5 separate regions of the Homo sapiens genome follow, and all the other regions are linked to region 2. Evidence: promoter capture Hi-C in 16 types of primary human blood cells and fetal thymus (Javierre and others, 2016). All regions are on one chromosome and are shown on one strand. The core of a region is centred on a gene start or on the middle of the fragment in contact, and the rest is flanking DNA. Distances in the headings are between cores, read along the strand shown.

Region 1 (2,878 bases), core at 379-2,878, 280 kb after region 2:
GCTTGGTGTGCAGAGCCCCTTGCCCCCAGTCACTGGCTCCAACTGCCAGTGTAATGTGGAGGTGAGTGGGTAGGGGCCAACAGCTGGCAGCTCTGGTGGTAAGGGGGCCCCGTGCAAGGACTGTAGGCCCCACTGCAAACCCCCTCACGTGAGGTGGCTAGGCTGAGCGGATTGTTAGGGTGCAGGCCATGGTGGCACCAGGCCTCAGTCTGCACCCCCCCTCTCTCAGGTGGTCAGAGCGCTCACGGTGATGTTGCACAGACAGTGGCTGACAGTGCGGAGGGCAGGGGGACCCCCAAGGACCGACCAGCAGAGGCGGACAGTGCGCTGTCTGCGGGACACGGTGCTGCTGCTGCACGGCCTATCGCAGAAGGACAAGCTCTTCATGATGCACTGCGTGGAGGTCCTGCATCAGTTTGACCAGGTGATGCCGGGGGTCAGCATGCTCATCCGAGGGCTTCCTGATGTGACGGACTGTGAAGGTAAGCCTGCCAGAGGCCATCCTGCCCAGCCCCCATGGCTTCTTCCAGAGGTTCCCCAACAAGTCAGATTCCTGGGTGTCCCCTCAGCAGGCCCCCGCCCACTGCAGCCTGTTCCAGCACTGGGGCCATTTTCTTTTATCTTCCTGCCTCAGTTCTTCTCCAAGCATATTGGGATGCCTTTTGCATCTATCTGTTGAGTGTGCCTGGCAGAGCCACGGTTTTTCCAGAAATAGCCGTGTCTGAATTGCCTTTGTATCACTTTGTTTGCAGTAGCTGAGGGAGCAGGGCCTGGGTGTGGAAGGGACTGGTTAGTTCCTGCGGACGTTGGGGGAGGAGAGGTGGGACCTGCCCTAGGCCCTGGCACCTTTGGGCCCTCACCAGGAACCTCTCCTTTTTGTCTCAGAGGCAGCCCTGGATGACCTCTGTGCCGCGGAAACCGATGTGGAAGACCCCGAGGTGGAGTGTGGCTGAGGCCCTGAGTGTCCAGCCACATGGTGGCACCAGCACCACTCCTTTCCTTACCACATCAACTGATTAAAGCAGTGACCAGCAGGAACTGCCCAGAGAACTGGCTGGCCTTGTTTCCTGAGTCTGATCTGTTTGGCGGAGTGGGAGGGGTGGAGCAGGACCCGGACCCTGAGTGGCTGGGATCCTTCTTCCTGTCCCTGGCTGTTGCTGAGCCCGTCCCCATGGTAACTGATCTGCCTTGAGGAAGGAGCCCTGCCCTGCCTGTGGAATTGTCCTGAGTCATTGCTTTGGGCTGGGGCCATGGGAAGAAACCATTGTGTGGCAGGGAAGGAGGTGGCTCTTGGCCCAGGCCTAAACCAGGAAAGCCTGGGAAACTGGGACCCACAGGTGGGCATGAAAGGGCCGCAGCAGGGGCTCCCAGCAGTGTGTAAGACCGGGAGCTGGTCTGGCACCACTGCCCTGGTCCTTCCAGCTGCCTGTCACTGGTATGATGGCCCCGGTGCATTGTGCCACCAGCAGGCCACAGCTGTGGATCTTGGAAGGCCTCTGGGGTCCCCCGGGAGCAGGGGAGTGGGTGTGGGGGGGAACGGATGGTGGTGAGAGGGACAGACCAGGCAGGCTGACGAGCAGGGCGGGCCTGGCTCACGTGGGCCTGTAGGCGGGCCCACGCCAAGTTTCACTTCCCGCCACTGCTGCCAGCGAGAGCCGCGGGAGAGTGTGCAGCCGAGTCACTACTGCCTGCCTGCCTGCCTGCTACGGTGAGTGTGGCCCCCACAATGGGATGGCGCAGGGCAGGAGGGCCATGGGTTCCCCCACCCCAGACTAAGGGGGCACTAGGGGAGGGGCCGAGTCATGTGAAGAGGGAGACCCTCTCAGACAGTCGAATGTGCTGGTCCCACTAAGGAAACCACCTCACCCTCTCCAACTTCCTGCCTGAAAATGGGCCCTGGAGCTCGCAGACAGGGCAGGATTGTGCAGGGAAGGCCTGAGATGTGCTTCTGCCCACCCCCTACCCCACTCCCTCCCCTTCGGATCTTAACACTGGGCACTCACACACCCACCCCATGCTCCTCTCCAGGCTCAGCAGCAGGTACGTACCCAACCATGGGCTCGCAGGCCCTGCCCCCGGGGCCCATGCAGACCCTCATCTTTTTCGACATGGAGGCCACTGGCTTGCCCTTCTCCCAGCCCAAGGTCACGGAGCTGTGCCTGCTGGCTGTCCACAGATGTGCCCTGGAGAGCCCCCCCACCTCTCAGGGGCCACCTCCCACAGTTCCTCCACCACCGCGTGTGGTAGACAAGCTCTCCCTGTGTGTGGCTCCGGGGAAGGCCTGCAGCCCTGCAGCCAGCGAGATCACAGGTCTGAGCACAGCTGTGCTGGCAGCGCATGGGCGTCAATGTTTTGATGACAACCTGGCCAACCTGCTCCTAGCCTTCCTGCGGCGCCAGCCACAGCCCTGGTGCCTGGTGGCACACAATGGTGACCGCTACGACTTCCCCCTGCTCCAAGCAGAGCTGGCTATGCTGGGCCTCACCAGTGCTCTGGATGGTGCCTTCTGTGTGGATAGCATCACTGCGCTGAAGGCCCTGGAGCGAGCAAGCAGCCCCTCAGAACACGGCCCAAGGAAGAGCTATAGCCTAGGCAGCATCTACACTCGCCTGTATGGGCAGTCCCCTCCAGACTCGCACACGGCTGAGGGTGATGTCCTGGCCCTGCTCAGCATCTGTCAGTGGAGACCACAGGCCCTGCTGCGGTGGGTGGATGCTCACGCCAGGCCTTTCGGCACCATCAGGCCCATGTATGGGGTCACAGCCTCTGCTAGGACCAAGCCAAGACCATCTGCTGTCACAACCACTGCACACCTGGCCACAACCAGGAACACTAGTCCCAGCCTTGGAGAGAGCAGGGGTACCAAGGATCTTCCTCC
Region 2 (3,769 bases), core at 1,020-3,519:
CAGTGGTATGGTGAATTATACTTTACTACCCATCCTTCAAGGGCAAGCACACACCACCTCCTTATAGACATTTGAAACCTATTTCCTTTCTTCATAAACAGCCACAAGGGCTCCTTTGTATTGTTCTCAATAATGTTTATCACCGGGCGCGGTGGCTCACGCTGTAATCCCAGCACTTTGGGAGGCCGAGGAAGGCGGATCACCTGAGGTTGTGAATTCGAGACCAGGCTGACCAACATGAAGAAACCCTGTCTCTACTAAAAAATACAAAATTAGCCGGGTGTGGTGGTGCATGCCTGTAATCCCAGCTACTCGGGAGGCTGAGGCAGGAGAATCACTTGAACCCGGGAGGTGGAGGTTACAGTGAGCTGAGATCATGCCATTGCACTCCAGCCTGGGCGACAAGAGCGAAACTCTGTCTCAAAAAAAAAAAAAAAAAAGTTTATCACCCAATGCCATGACTTCCTCAAGTTCTCACCAAAACTAACCTCCTGGGTGAAAAGGCATGTTTCAGGAAATTCAGAGTATTGCTCCCCACACAGCAGACTTAAATACCTGAATCTGTTGACTCGGAGGAGCCCATTCTCTGCAGATTACTGTTGTTCTTCACCTCCAGTGGTTGCTCATAATCACTGAAACCAACAGAAATAAACCATGAATGATTTATAGGATATAATTAAAAGGTCACATGCAGGAGATAGGCCATGAGATTAAGAAGCAGCCAGGCTGCCAGAAACCATTTCTAGGCCACACCACAAGTGGCAAAGATCCCACTTTGCCACTCTGAACACCCAATTAGCACTTGGGCAAAGGAGAAAAAAGGAGTGGGTGGGCATGGCCTTGGACCACATTGCAGGTTATGATGGCTATGGCAAATGTTGGGGTATTTCCTAAAATAAAAGCATGTGTTCTAAGTACTGAGACAGAGTCGGGATGAAAGTTGAACAGGACACTTTCTGCTTTTCAGAAGTTGGGAAACGCACAAGACATGTGCTTAGCAAACGGGATGCCAGAGATTGAAGGGAAAGTAGCTCTTCCGCGGGAAACACCGTGGGATGCATTTTTTGCTATCAGGAAAAGCCCAGGAAGCTTTCTGAAAGTTGGGTAAAAAGACCTGGCCTTAGGAAAGCAGCAGAGTGGACATCAGGAATGTGCACAGGGCGAGGGACTGAGATGATTTTACATAAACGCCAGGAAAGAAAATGCCATGGTCCTTTGTTGAGAAGGAACAAAGATCACAGCAAACGAAGATCCTGAGGATGGTTTAGCAAAGGGTGAAAGTGAGTGCCTAGAAGAGCCTGATTTTCCCCGCGGGGGTAGATTCCAAAGAGCTTCCAGGGATAGAGATAGAAGGAGAGTACGGAGCAATCCGAAAGGGGTGAAGGTGGGCCTGGCTCGGGCTTAGGCCCAAGGATCTCCACCTCTTCCCCTGGAAGGTCCCGACGGCCTCTCCCGCCCAACATTCCGCCCGGGCGGGGGTGCACATGGCAGGCCCTAGCCCGGCTGTCCCCGAGCGGCGAACCCGGACGGACGGGTCTCGCCCTTCTCCCGGTCCGTTTCCTGGCCTGATCTCTCCGAGGCCGACACCGAGGCCAGGGGCCCGGAGCACCGCCCGCCGGTCTCTCCTTACCTGCCCAGACCCTGCAGCTGGTCCATAGTGACGGTCAGGTTGGTGACAGGCGACAGTCCCCCGGCGGCTGAAGCGCCAAATAGCGCCTTCACGACGGGCTGCGACGCGGGAGGGGGGCTGCAGGCGAAGAGCAGGCGGCGGCGGTGCGGGGGCTCCGGGCCCAGTTCCATGGCGGCGCCCGGCCTCGCAGAGCTCCCGCTCCCTCTTCCTCTGCCTCCGCCGCGACCGCCCCGCCCCGCCGACACCGGCCTCGGCCGCGCGCCACCGGCGCCCGCGGGTCAAACACAAACACGACTCCGCGGTTCAGGGACGCGGCTGCCGCGGGCAAGCGGCGCGGCCGGGCGGGTGTGCGGACCCTCCAGGCGCCAGCCACCAGCCACAGGCACGGGTGCTTCCCTCTCACACCGCGAGGCCAGCGGGCGGGCGGGCGCCGGCAACCTGAAGATTAAATCCAAACAAACGTGGCGGGTCGGCAAGAGAAGCCGGGCGAGAGCCTCGAGGCAACGGCCCAGGCTCACGCTGTCTTCGCTGTTCTCCCACCCGCTTGCCCAGCTCCGGGTAGCAGAAAACCAAGCCGACCTACACCTCTTACCCAGGCTGTCGCAGCCAGGCCGGCCTTTCGCGGTAATAGCGGCTCAGTGGGGCCAGCTGCTGCCCCGCCCCCCTTTCCTAGTTGGCGCCAAACGGAATCCACCAATCAGTAAGCAACTTCTCCTCCTCTCAACCGAATGGCAGCTAGGCTGGGCCAATGAGAGGGGAAGAAGAAAGCGGCTCGCGGGACTCTGCCAGGTCATCGGCTCTCAGAAGGGGGCGGAGCCCAGAGCAGAAGAGCGGGGATCAAAATGAGAGGGGGAGCAGAGGTCAATGAAAACTCCCAGCAGAACCTGCGAGGCGCTGCTCGCGGCTGAAAGGCCCCTTTGCCCCGTCGCATGCTGGGAAGCGTAGTTCCCATCGCGAGCTGCCGTCCAGTTAGCTTCGGCCCCCTTTGGGCCTCCGCTACCTCGCCCCCAGCCGGGCGCCCCACACTCTGAGGCAATGTGGAGGCTAAGGAAGACCTGTGGAGGTCTGGCCGGATCCAGCCTTGGCTCGGCCTCTAACCGTGCAGTATTGTGGACCCCTTTCTTCCGCCCCGGGCCTCCAGGCCCCATTTTATAATGAGGGAGGGAATGCAATGACCCCCAGGACTGGACTCGACCACCAGGGCCCAACTCTGGAGGGCTCACAGACCCTGGGTGCTGCTGGCCTCATGGGATTTGAACCCCGCAGTACAACCTGTGCTGTGGGCCTCAGCATTTTTTGCTCACTTCCATTCTAGCCCTTATTGGATGCTCTTAGAATCATTTCTTTCTTTCCCACCACTTCTTAGCCCCCTGGGAGCTCCTAGAGAGAAATAACAGCAAACACAATAATAGCAAATAATAGCTAAAGTTTACATAATGCTTATGCACTTGACACTGTTCCCAGTGTGTTAATCTGTATTAATTCATTTAATCTTTACAACTCTGTGACATAGGAATTATCCCCATTTTCTAAGTGGGCATATTTACTTTTACAGCGCCGAACCTGTGGCAGCTCCTAGACGGATTTTGAGGGCCATAAGTGCATGATTTAATTGCAACCTACTGCTGGGCTTAGTGGCTCACGCCTATCATCCCAGCACTTTGGGAGGGCGAGGTGGGAGGATTGCCTGAGCCCACGAATTTGAGACCAGCCTGGGCAACAAAGTGAGACACCCCCTGCCCCCCACTCAAAAAAAAAAAACCCTACAGTTTGAAAAGCCATGCTGGACAGGTGGAAACCCCAAACCTTTGGCCCCAACACCAGACCCTTCACAGTGAGGAACCTCTCTCTCAGGATTCATCTCCTTTTCTGTGCACCAGTGCTCCACCACCCAGGAACCTCCCTTCCCTCCAGAAACCCCAGGCTATTTAGGCCTCTCTGCACAGTTCACATGGTCTGTGGTCCCACTGTTTCAAATAGTTCTCCCTGTCGTATCTCTGAATACTTTCCTCTCCTCCTGTGTTTTATGTGGTTTAATACTTGGCTCAACAGGCCGGGAGCGGTGGCTCACGCCTGTAATCCCAGCACTTTGGGAGACCGAGGCGGGCGGATCACGGGGTCAGGAGATCGAGACCATCC
Region 3 (3,618 bases), core at 1,001-3,500, 320 kb after region 2:
GATCTCAGCTCACTGCAATCTCTGCCTCCCAGATCCAAGCAATTTTCCTGCCTCAGCTTCCCGAGTAGCTGGGATTACAGGTGCCTGCCACCAGGCCCAGCTAATTTTTTGTATTTTTTAGTACAGACAGAGTTTCGCCATGTTGGCCAGGCTGGTCTTGAACTCCTGACCTCAGGTGATCCACCCATCTTGGCCTCCAAAGTGCTGAAATTACAGGCATGAGCCACCGCACCCCAGCCAGACTGTCTAGTTCTTAATCCTCGTTCACTCTCTCCCTCACTCAACCACAGCAACCTCAGCCCCTGCTGGGCACCACAACTGCAGGGGCCTGGCTCTCACAGACCACCCCATAACCATGATGGCAGGCTAGATCCTGGTCAGAAATTGTCACACCCACCATACCAGCGTTCATAAAGCACTTAGCCCCGCGCTGGGCCTGCAGCAGGTGTCCAGGAAATGTCTGTGCCTTCCAGGAGTTTGAGACCAGCCTGGGCAACAGGGCTCCAAGGCAGTGGCACCATCTGTAGCCCTGGAGCCATCACAAGACTCTCAGCACAGAGTTGGGATCTACTGACATCCTTACAAGTCTCAATAAACGAGGTCATGCTGAGGGGATCTGGCTGACAACAAATGTGGAAAATAACCCAGGTTTTTGGATGACCACAAGGTTTACAAACCTCCAGGAAGATGCTACAGTCAAATGTTCCCATGTATCCTCAGGCTACATTAGCAGAGACCTGTGCCCACTAACAGGAAGGAACAGTACCGGATTCTGCCAGGGCAGACTCCAAAGAGAATACCTAGTCCAGCAAGGCCCACAAGTCCGCAGTAGGCAGGGGACAGGTCTGATGATAGCCCTGAGGCATAACTACATCGGCCTGGAAACAGTCTGCCATAGCACGTGGCCTCTGGAGACCCAGCCAGGCCAGGCACCTGGCCATGTGCAGCATCTGGTGCCCGGGCCTGATCAGGACACCACACACCCCGAGGCTGTCAGTAGAGTGAAGCCCAGAGACAGAGACACCAAGTGACCTCCTTGGGAAGAGGGAACTTTAGTGGGGAGTTGGGGGGAACTGCACTTCTTGGCAGCTCCAGGCAGAACCCTGCTCTGGGCAAAGCCATGGAGCAGAGGATTGGACCATTGACAAGCCCAGTTTGGCCAGCTGCCCACCTGAAAGCTGGTATCATCAGCATGGCCCGTGCCTGGTGGCTCAGGTGAACCCATATGCAGCAAGGTCTTCACAGCCCAATCTGAGCCTCTGAGCTAGGGCTGAAGACACACCGGTGAGGCTGTTTAGGCTGAGTCCATGGCACAAATGCTCTCTGACCCCCAGACCTCACTGAATCAGTGACCGACCCTCCTACAGGCTCACTCCAGGAGTGGGCGGATTCTGGGCACAAGTCTCCCCTTTCTCATTTCTCTAGCCCAGGTCCTCTGGATTCATCCCAGCCCCCAGGAAATACAGCCTTCCCCTCCACGAAGCCACCCACCCCAAAAGGGTCTTTGGCTTCCCATGGGTGGGCAGGGGATTGTTCCAATTCCTAACCCTTTAAAGGACCCGCCCCCAGCCAGCCTTCCAGACTCTGTGAATCACCTATCTGCAACCAACACACACAGTGGTGTCTCCACCCCAGAGGCCAGCCTCAGCGCCGGGCTCTACAGGAACACAAGGGCCAACGGAGGCAGCGGTGGGGGCTCCCAGACATTAAACAGAGGCAAAGAGGGAAGGCCTCTGATGGAGGGGCCAGCTCGCCCTGCAGCCACCCGCCAGACTAAAGCCAGGCAGGGAACCCTACCCTAGCCTCTGGGGACTCCATCCCCTGGAACATGGGCGGGAGGGCAGACCCCTCCCCACCGTTCCAGGACAGACAAAGGTGGCAGCTGCCTGGTGTCTAGGCAGGGTTGTTCAGGCAAGGAGGGTGCTGGGGTGGAGGAGGGGTCCGCAGTCGTGGGGGTTCGCTGACGGCCTCGGGGCAATCAGGGGTCAGTGGGGGGCATAGTGGGGCTGGTGCTGCCCGGCTCGTTGGAGAGGCAGCGCGGGGAAGTGTCTGCCCGGTCCCAGGGCAGGACGGGCCGCCCCCACCCCCGGCTCACCACCCGGAGGCGGCGTTAGCAGCAGCAGCAACAGCAACGGCAACAGGATCCGCGGCGCGGGGACCGGCGCAGTCATGGCTGGGCGGGCGGACGGGCGGACGGACGCGAGCGCCGGGCGCAGTGCCGCCACAGCCTCAGTGATCCGCGCGGCCGCCCCTCTCCCTCGCCCCGCCCCGCCCCGGCCCGGCTGGTTCCCGGAACCTCTGTCCGGGGGAGCAGGAGGAGGAGGAGGGAGGAGGAGGGAGGAGGGAGGAGGGAGGAAGGTGGAAGGAGGAGGAAGGAAGGAAGCGGACGACTTCCCAGCCTCGGGGCCAGCTTCGCGCCCGGGGTCTGCGCGAAAACTTGGTACCGGTTCCCAGACTCGGACAGGCGCCGGGCGACGCACGGAGTTTCCTTCTGCTCACCGGATGCATGGGGGGCGGCGGCGGCCCCCAGCTCTCAGGCCTGGAGGGCGTCCCCGGGAATATGCACCCTGACACTGAGCGCCTACTGTGTGGGCTGGGGGACAGCCACAGCCATCCCTCCCAGCCGCAGTCCCGGCGGATCCTCACTTGCCCGAGGGCTACGTGAGGACTAGGTGAGGCGGTGCGAGGACAGTGCCCAGCGCAGACCTTGGCACTCAGTAGACACTCCACAAATGCCGGTTCCCTTCTACAGGCCCAGTCGCCAGCTCAGAGGACACTCGATCTCCTGCCCCCTGGGACTGACACCATCATCCCAAGGTGATCCCCAGCCCCAGCCCTGGCAGGCTCAGCGCTGGCGCAGTGGGCCAGGACTGAGCTAGAAACTGGCAGCTCCCAGGGCACACAGCCAGGCCAACTTCCCACACAGGGCTCCGCCCCCTCACTTCGGGGCAGGGGTCCAGGCAGAATCAGGGATGTTGAGTCATTCTTCCTTTTATGCCCAGAGTTCCTGACCCACCCCCACTCTGCACCTAGCACAATCAGAACATTTCACTCAAGACAGAAAACGTGAAATGTCACACTAGTGGGGCACCCAGGCTGGGTTGTGCACCCTGTGTGCCACCATATATTTCTCACCTAAAGGTGGGGGCATCGCTGTGGACAAAGAGAAACCCAAGGGGACAATCTGGGATGTTCCCAGTAGTTTCCCAGGCTAGGGTGTTAGAACAGGGAGAGGAAGGCCTGGGTCTCCAATAAGCCCCCATCACCTCCTGGCCAAGAAGGGCTTAAGACTCACCGTGCTCAATACACATGTGGGGGGCAGGGATATGACAGTTCCCAGGCAGGATGCCCTCTGGGAGGGTCTTAGTGAGGGACTGGAGTCACATCCTCCCTGACAGCCCAGCCTGGTTATCCCACCTCTGCCTCCTGAGCGCCACTCTCCAAAGCTGGGTGCAGCCTAGGTCCCCCTTCTGCAGAATGGCCAGTGTATGCTCCTCATGTCCAGCTCTAGAGCCATCCTGTGTTCCACACCCTGGGTGCCCAGCCCTCTGCCTCCCTAAAGGTTGCTCATTCCACTCTGCACCATCCACAAGCTTGGTTTCTTGTTCCTTGGTTTTC
Region 4 (4,143 bases), core at 674-3,173, 360 kb before region 2:
CTGTTGCCAGGCTGGAGTGCAGTGGCGCAATCTCGGCTCACTGCAACCTCCGCCTCCCGGGTTCAAGCAATTCTCCTGCCTCAGCCTCCCAAGTAGCTGGGACTACAGGCGCGTGCCACCATGCCCAGCTAATTTTTGTATTTTTAGTAGAGATGGGGTTTCACCATGTTGACCAGGATGGTCTTGATACCCTGACCTCATGATCCGCCTGCCTCAGCCTCCCAGAGTGCTGGGATTACAGGCATGAGCCACTGCGCCTGGCTGATTTTTTTTTAACATAAAAATCTAAACATCTGTTCAACACATGTGTTGTAAACTAGAAAAAATAGTATAATGAACCTGCAAGTACCTGTCACCCAGCTTCAACAATTAACAACTCATGGCCAGTGTTGCTTTGTGTATAGCTCTTCATTTTGGCTTCTTTAGAGGCAACTAAGAAATCATGGCATTTCAGCCTTATGCCAAATGGCTGTCAGAAAAGAGTGCTATCCTGAGGGCTTCCTCAAGTGCCACAAAGGGCTTGGGTCCTGCTGTCCAGGTGGGGCCTTTCTGTCTAGACTGTTGTCTCCTTCAGCTTTCAGATACCATTTTCTTTTCCTTTTTTTTTTTTTTTTTTTTTTTTGAGATGGAGCCTTGCTCTGTCACCCAGGCTGAAGTGCAGTGGCATGATCTTGGCTTACTGCAACCTCCGCCTCCTGGGTTCAAGCGATTCTCCTGCCTCAGCCTCCCGAGTAGCTGGGATTACAGGCGCGCGACACTATGCCCGGCTAATTTTTGTATTTTTAGTAGAGATGGGGTTTCACCATGTTGGCCAGGCTGGTCTCGAACTCCTGACCTCAGGTGATCTGCCTGCCTCGGCTTCCGAAAGTGCTGGGATTACAGGCGTGAGCCACTGCGCCTGGCGAGGAACAGCACTTTCACTGCTGGACTTTACGCTGGACCAGCTCAATTCTTGGCAGTTTCCAAAGCTGGGTGTTTTCACCTTCCCCTCCAGCCCTGGGGATTAAATCTGTTTCCTGAAGAGGTCTTCCTTGGCCTGGCTCCAGATTTTCTTTTTCGTTTTTTAAACTTTTAATAGAGTTGGGGTTTCACTATGCTGCCCAGACTGGTCTCAAAATCCTGGGCTCAGGGGATCCATCCGCCTCAACCTCCCAAAGTGTTGGGATTGCAGGCATGAGCCACGGCGCCTGGCCCTGGCTCCAGATCTTCACCAGGTTTACTTTGTAAGCCGTTAAATAAGATGGGGCTGCCAATTTGCCAGAGGCACGTGAGAGGTAGTTAGGAACAATTGGTAGGACCTAGAGGGAACTAACTTCGCTTCCTTAGATGACATTGAGCTAAGGCCTAGCATTATTTTCCCCCCAACAGCCTCATTCCATCTTCCTGCCTTCCATCCACACGACTGCTGGTTTAGATTTGCTGGAGAGTGAGCTCTGCAGGGTCCTAGCCCTGGGCAGCGCCGAGCCCGCCTACTGAAGGCCCAGGGCTGTGGTGAGCGAGGACGGGCTGCTGATGCCCTCGCCTAGGCTTGGGCTTCGGGTCCGCCCGGCCCGCAGGGGGCGCGCGGCGCTCGGGCCGGCCGCTCCCGTTCTCTTCGCCCGGTCCCTGCCGCGCACAGGCCTCGGGGTCGGCGGGAGCACGATGGCGGCCGCTAGGAGACTCATGGCGCTGGCCGCCGGCATCTCTCCGCGCCTGCAGCCGCTGGGTCCCCGCGCTGCTGGGCGACAGGGTCGCTCGCGCGGCTTCTCTTCAAGCTGCGCCCACCCCGACCACACCAAGGAAGCCGCCGAGGCCGAGTCAGGGATGGCCCCCGGCGGGCCTGGGGAAGGCGACGGAAGCTTGGTGAACGGTGAGGGCATCGGCGGGGGCGGGCGGTCCGCAGCGCCCTTGACTCCTGGGATGGCAGAGCTAGGGGCGCGGGCCGAAATCGGGCCTGGCGGCCGGGGGTCCTCTCTTCCATAGTGGCCAAGTTCGCCATCCGTCGGCGGGCAGCGGCCTTGCTGTTTGTAAAGCTTAGCGTGGCACAGGCCCGAATGGACCCTTAGAGTACCTGCTCCCGGCAAGAATAGGTGAGAGGTGCGAGACCTCGAGGGAGTGGGGAAAACGAGTAAAAGTCCAACTCCTGCCAGGATGAGTGGCCAAGGGCTAGAGCTTCTAGGGACAAGCATGCCCTCACCAGTGTGAGAAATAGCCCAAAGTAACTCCTGGGACATCAGGATCTCAAATAGAGACAGAATGACTGTTCTGGTGGATTCCAGCTTTGTGCCTCCCAAATAGTGCAGAGGATAAAACTGTTGAAAGCATCAAGGATGGGTAGAGAGCGCCAGCCTCCACCAACCTTATAGAGCTGAAGGTGGGGGCGGGGTGGTGGTCTCAGTGCAGCTCTATTGTTAAACCAGTGGGTGTAATGGGCTACTCGAAGTTGGGTCCCTCTGTGACGAAACCCCCCCCGCCCCGGCCAAGTCCACTTAGATATGGTTTCTTAACTGCTTAACTGCTTGACTCTTAGTTGCTTTACAAGTTACCGCTTAGAGGGAGACAGGATCAGGTGTCCTCCATCCTGGCCACTTGACACAGGAGTCTGTCCCAAGGAAACAGTCTCAAACCAGGCAGCAGAGTTACATCAGAACGCTTGGAAGCACTTTTTGAAAATATAGAGTCGCCTCCAACATCGCTCCCATTCTCAGGTCCCCTGTGGGGAGCTGGATGTCCATGCGGTGAAAAAGCTCCCCAGGTGATCAGTGTACACGCAGGTGCACATGTGCATATATACAGCTCCTTTTGGAGCTGCCAGAGGCTAGAGTGGAGAATGATATGGCCCCCCATGTTCCTAGCAGACCTCTTCATGACCTGGTTAAGCCTTGTGTCTGGTACAAGCTTACCCTAGGTAGATATCTCTTCCCTTTCTGCTCTGAGATTAATCCAAAAAACAAGAAAAAGAAGCGAGGTACCTCTCATGGTATCTGATGCATCAATTTTCCCCTTGATTCCAGAGAACTTGGGGGAGGAGTAATTCATGCCTGCTCAGATGTAGAGGTTTTCTTTCTTTTTTTTTTTTTTTTTTGAGATGGAGTTTCACTCTTGTTGCCCAGGCTGGATTGCAGTGGCGCGATCTTGCCTCACTACAACCTCCGCCTCCCGGGTTCAAGCGATTCTCCTGCTTCAGCCTCCCAAGTAGCTGGGACTACAGGCGCCTGCCACCAGGCCTGGCTAATTTTTTGTATTTTTAGTAGAGACGAGGTTTCACAAGGTTTCACTATGTTGGCCAGGTTGTCAAACTCCTGACCTTGTGATCCACCCGCCTTGGCCTCCCAAAGTGCTGGGATTACAGGCGTGAGCCACCACGCCCAGCCAGATGTAGAGGTCTTTAATCAGTCCCCACACATAGTTTGGTTCTGTGGGAGTCTTTTGCAGTGTGCTTAGATACGGTTGAGAGCTGGGGCCTGGTATTCAGCATCTGGATCTCATCACTTGAGATACATGGGGCCAGGTCTCTCGTGTGTGTGTCTTATTTTAGGAAGAGCCTTGCATTGTCTTGATCTCCAGTTTGTGTGTGTGGTGGATTTTTGTTTTTGTATTTTTTGCTTGCTTGTTTGTTTAGTGTCTTCTTTCAGACATCAGACTGGGGGGTTTATTGACCAACCAGGCTTTTGTAGGTGATGTATGAAATGAGGAGATTGGGCGGAGAAGAGGATGCTGGTAGGATCCCTTCTGTGGTGTGTGGGTCATTGGCCCTTCTTCAGGAGATGGTTATTCAAGTGGGTCTGGCCCCACTCTTCCCTGTAAACCCTGAAGTCATTCCTCTTTTCTTTTCCAAGATGCTCCTGGGTGGTTTGGGGTCATGAGCCAACATCCTCAGAATCCAGCCCAGGGTTGCCCTGATACACACCCCATGGAGTTTTTAAAAGAAAAAGAACAACTGTAATGCTTTTGTTCTTATTTTCTTAGCTTCTAGGGACCTATTAAAAGAGTTCCCACAGCCCAAAAATCTTCTCAACAGTGTGATTGGAAGAGCCCTCGGCATCTCACATGCAAAAGACAAACTAGTCTACGTGCACACAAATGGACCGAAGAAAAAGGTAACTCTGCTGGTGGCAAGGAAAAACATTGGTATGACTCAGAAAGGAGGCTGTTTGTCCTTTC
Region 5 (3,713 bases), core at 496-2,995, 470 kb after region 2:
GCTGGTGCTGATGAGGCCGGAGCGTGGATCAATCTCGAAGGCGGCGGCAGCTGCAGCGCGCGCAGCTGGCGGCCCCACGAAGCGGTAGCGCAGGTTGGCGTTGGGGGGCGCGTCGCCGTCAGTGGCACGCAGCTGCAGGATAGGGTAGCCCTCCTCCACATTCTCGCGAAGGGTCTCCCGGTACTGCGCTTGCTCAAAAACCGGCGAGTGGTCGTTGCGGTCGGCTACTGTCACGGCCACCATCGTGGTGGCCGAGAGGCGCGGCGACCCGTGGTCCTGCGCGGTCACACGCAGGTAGTGACGCTCCATGCTCTCGCGGTCCAGAGCTGCCGCCGTACGGATAAGGCCGCTCTGCGGGTCGATGCTGAACAGCTCCAGCGAGCGGCTGTTCATGAGTGCCGCCAGCGAGTAGACTAGGCGCCCGGCCTCGCCGGCGTCCGGGTCCTGAGCAACCACGCGTAGCACCGCGGTGCCTGCTGCCTCATTCTCCGGCACCAGCGTCTGGTAGTTGTACTGCGGAAACTGCGGGTGGCGGTTTGCGGCGCGACGAAAGCGTGCCCGGTTCGCCGAGGTTACTTTCCTGGCTTCAGGACGGGCCGGGAGTCCCGGGGGACGCGGCCCGGGGCGCTGCGGGAGGAAGCGGCAGCGGAAGAGACCCCGGGAGCGCATGCGCTTGGGCGCCGGCTCGGGAGCTGTCCGAGACTCGCGGGGTGCTGAACCTGATGCAGGAGCTGTCCTCGCCGTGCGTGGTGCTGAATCCAGCTCGGGGCCAGATCCCGAGGCCCCTGGAAGACAGTTCCGCCGGGGGGCTGTCCTTTCTGCTCCGGATGTCGTGGCTCTCTCGCCCTGACCCTTGCTCCCTGTTGCCCATAATTCCCCACAGCAGCGCGCGGTGCCCACTCTTTTGCGGGAGCCTGTCCCAGCGTTCCGCTGGGAGGACACCGGCTTGGGACCGTGGTGCCGAATCAAAAAGTCTGAAGGGAGGGGCGAGCTGTTCCCCGAGCCCGGGACCCCTGAGGACAGAGCCCCTGGTGACAGACTACCTCTTTGCAAAGGTCCTGTCCGCCCGCAAGAGGAGACCTCTGGGCGCCAGTATAACACAGACCCTGGTCCCTGTCCTGTCTCTCGTTCGCGGCTGCCCAATGGCTGGACGCCGTGTTCAATCCCCAGCTCCTCATTCGGCTGCTCAGGGGGCCCTCGACTATTCCGGGCGCTTTGCCTTCTCCCTCGGAGCCCCACGAAGATAGGCTCCCTGACCCCCAGGCCAGGCCCCCCATCCTCCCGGACCCCGGAAGACTCCGGACAAAGAGCTAAGGCTCCGCCACCGATATGCGCCCTTGGCCCCGTAGTGGCAGCTAAGCCTGGGTCCCAGCCCTGGTGCCCACCGCCCCCCAGCTCCTCCTGGCTGAGGGGGAACAAAGAGAGGAGAAGGAGCAGGAGTATGGGGGTCGACCGTCCCCCGAGGCCCCGCCACGGCGGCCGCCTCGCCATCATCCCCCGCCTCCCTGCACGGCCTCCACCGCCCCCCGCCCCGGTCCGGGCCTTGGGCTGGCCCCGCCGCTCGGGCCCCCTCCCGGGCCCCTGCCGCCGCCCCGGGCCCCCGCCCCTCCGCCTGTCTCTCCGCACCCCCGCCGCCCTCTGGGCACCATCTACTCCGCGGCCGGAGCCCCTCCGGCGTGCGGCCCTGGCTTTTTCCGCCCCCACCACAGCATCCCCGACGCTGCTGCCGCCTCCCGCCGCTCCAACATGGCTCCCGGCCGCCCCGATGGTTCGCTCCACCTCTGCCCCGGCGCCCGAAACACGGTGGTACAACCCATCGCGCATGGCAGCTCTGAGGACCGAAGATGTTGCCGCCATCTTTATTGAGGACGTGAGCGTTGCTCCTGGTGCTGAACAGAGCGCGAAGGTTCGCCGTCGTTGGGTCCGCCCTCCCCACTTTCGGTCGCCGCCTTCACCCACCTCCCTCCTTCTAGGGCGCTGTCCCAGCTCCGTCTCCCAGCCTTTTTCTGTCCTTCCAGATCTCTTGTTCCCCCTTCCTGACCACTAGTTCTGAACCGTGTCCCGGATTTTGGTCTGAAATTTTGGTGCCCATGAGCGTTCTCATAGCTCTGGGAGGGGGTACTGTGTGAAATCCTGGGGTAGAGGGGACGATGGCTGGAGAGGGGTCTGGGGTGCCAGCACCCCGAACAATAGCTTTAACTATCCCATCAGCTAGTTTTATGAAACATGTCGCGACCACCTGCTTGTTTGGATCGCCCCTGCGGAGCAGGGACCAGAGATGACCCTCCCGAGGCGGGAGCAGAGGCCAAATTCTTCCCTGCCTTGCTGGTCCCCAGCAGTCTCCCGGGCTCGGGGCCCCTTCACTGGAGGCTGCACCCCCTCCCAGGCTGCGAGTCCCGAGTGCTCTGGGATGCCACGTGGAGCCCGGCGTTGCCCCATGGCTGCGGGCCCCGCTTCTTCGGGTCCCCGCCCCTCGTCCGTCACGACCGCATGCCTTAACCCCTTGAAGGGACTGACACAGAAACTCAGTCCTCCCCCCACCCTCGGTGCATTCCAGCTCTCCCTGCGTAACTCCTGGCACGCGCCGGTCTCGCCAGGCCAATGGGTGGACCTGGCGCAACAGACGTCACGAGAGGAGCGGAGGCGAGGGGTGAACGCGGAGCACTCCAATCGGTCAGTCATTGTTTCTATTGGCACAATGGGAGGCCCCGCCCCTCACGGCGGACTCATCGCATGGGGGAGGGGGCTCCGCGGGTTGCCGGCTAACCGTGAGAGAGTCCGGGAGGTACACTATACGGACCGGCCTCCAAAGGCGGAATCGATAACGAGCTGCAGCGCCGGGTGCAGAGGACGCGGGCATCCCGAAGCCCAGGAAGAGGTCAGGGCCGGGACCCCAGAACGCTCCACAGGGTGCGGCTCCCGCGATGGGGTGGATCCTGGTTCTAACAGGCGAGGAACTCCTGGCCAAGGCCTCTGGCCCGCCCCGAACGGTCCCTATGACATCACCATCAACCAATCAGTCGGCGCATCCTTTCGCCCCTTGACTGCTCCGCTTCCGGGAGGCGGGGCTTCTGCGGGTTCCACCTCCCGAGCGCCCCTTGTGGCTACCAAGGTCAGGCAACAGGTGTCCAGTTGTTCCCTCTCCTGTCTACGAATCTGAGGACCTCCCCAGGATCAGAGCTCTGGGCCTGATACACGGCCGGGGTTCCTACGGGTTTGTGAGTGGGGGTGGAAGATCTGCAGAGGCACTTAGGGCTGAACTCCTTTGAATGGGAGCCAATCGGTGCAGGGGCTGGAGGAGCGAGTCCCCCAAAGTAGTTTTATTTATCTATTTAGAGACAAGGTCTCACTCTTTCGGAGTGCAGTGGTGATCACAGCTCACCGTAGCCTCGAACTCCCCAGGCGATTCTCTCACCTCAGCCTCCCGAGTAGCTGGGACTACGGGTACATGTCATCACACTTGGCTAATTTTTGCATTTTTTATAGAGACAGGGTCTCACCATGTAGGCCAGATTAGTCTTGAACTCCTGGGCTCAAGCAATCCGCCCATCTTGGCCTCCCAAAGTGCTGGGATTATAGGTGTGAGCCACCGCGCCCGGCAACCCAGAAGTGGTTTTGACAGCACCAGCGCTTTCTGTGTCCACAATCTAGTGAGTAGAGGGCACAAAACCTGACACCACGGAGGCAGACAGGCAGGGGCTCTGCCGGGGAAG

The links. The method cuts DNA at HindIII sites, captures the fragments that hold promoters and counts their contacts. A CHiCAGO score of 5 or more calls a contact.
Region 1: the fragment with the promoter of TREX1 here is called in contact with the fragment with the promoter of CDC25A in region 2 in 17 of 17 cell types (megakaryocytes, endothelial precursors, erythroblasts and 14 more); the score reaches 13.3 in megakaryocytes.
Region 3: the fragment with the promoter of SHISA5 here is called in contact with the fragment with the promoter of CDC25A in region 2 in 5 of 17 cell types (M2 macrophages, neutrophils, endothelial precursors and 2 more); the score reaches 8.4 in M2 macrophages.
Region 4: a fragment that was not itself captured here is called in contact with the fragment with the promoter of CDC25A in region 2 in 2 of 17 cell types (megakaryocytes and endothelial precursors); the score reaches 7.4 in megakaryocytes.
Region 5: a contact is called between the fragment with the promoter of CELSR3 here and the fragment with the promoter of CDC25A in region 2, in 1 of 17 cell types (neutrophils). The highest score is 5.8, in neutrophils.

Annotation. Positions count from the first base shown.
Region 1 is chr3:48,464,602-48,467,479 of GRCh38, forward strand. It overlaps TREX1 (three prime repair exonuclease 1), which reads left to right and starts at 1,629. Exons shown (of 2, transcript NM_033629.6): 1 at 1,629-1,708; 2 at 2,029-2,878. The coding sequence starts at 2,055. ATRIP (ATR interacting protein) reads left to right here. Exons shown (of 13, transcript NM_130384.3): 11 at 1-61; 12 at 230-482; 13 at 886-2,878. The coding sequence ends at 953. It overlaps ATRIP-TREX1 (ATRIP-TREX1 readthrough), which reads left to right. Exons shown (of 15, transcript NR_153405.1): 12 at 1-61; 13 at 230-482; 14 at 886-1,708; 15 at 2,029-2,878. RefSeq lists enhancers at 855-944, 1,557-2,438, 2,025-2,224, 2,439-2,878. The HindIII fragment of the contact is 3,980 bases long and covers 1-2,878 here.
Region 2 is chr3:48,186,148-48,189,916 of GRCh38, forward strand. CDC25A (cell division cycle 25A) reads right to left here and starts at 2,270. Exons shown (of 15, transcript NM_001789.3): 1 at 1,631-2,270; 2 at 556-632. The coding sequence starts at 1,800. RefSeq lists an enhancer at 1,355-1,983 and a silencer at 1,727-1,936. The HindIII fragment of the contact is 7,442 bases long and covers 1,088-3,769 here.
Region 3 is chr3:48,501,924-48,505,541 of GRCh38, forward strand. It overlaps SHISA5 (shisa family member 5), which reads right to left and starts at 2,251. Exons shown (of 6, transcript NM_016479.6): 1 at 2,096-2,251. The coding sequence starts at 2,171. RefSeq lists silencers at 1,906-1,955, 1,966-2,445 and an enhancer at 2,783-3,336. The HindIII fragment of the contact is 7,520 bases long and covers 1-3,591 here.
Region 4 is chr3:47,823,399-47,827,541 of GRCh38, forward strand. It overlaps DHX30 (DExH-box helicase 30), which reads left to right. Exons shown (of 22, transcript NM_138615.3): 5 at 3,949-4,079. Among named protein-coding and RNA genes, the nearest start is that of DHX30, 22 kb to the left of the region's middle. RefSeq lists a silencer at 1,408-1,697. The HindIII fragment of the contact is 174 bases long and covers 1,837-2,010 here.
Region 5 is chr3:48,661,141-48,664,853 of GRCh38, forward strand. CELSR3 (cadherin EGF LAG seven-pass G-type receptor 3) reads right to left here and starts at 1,746. Exons shown (of 35, transcript NM_001407.3): 1 at 1-1,746. The coding sequence starts at 1,494. It overlaps LINC02585 (long intergenic non-protein coding RNA 2585), which reads left to right and starts at 2,628. Exons shown (of 3, transcript NR_111921.1): 1 at 2,628-2,673. RefSeq lists enhancers at 1-55, 56-640, 1,752-1,941, 1,812-2,397, 2,712-3,071 and 2 more. The HindIII fragment of the contact is 11,755 bases long and covers 1-3,713 here.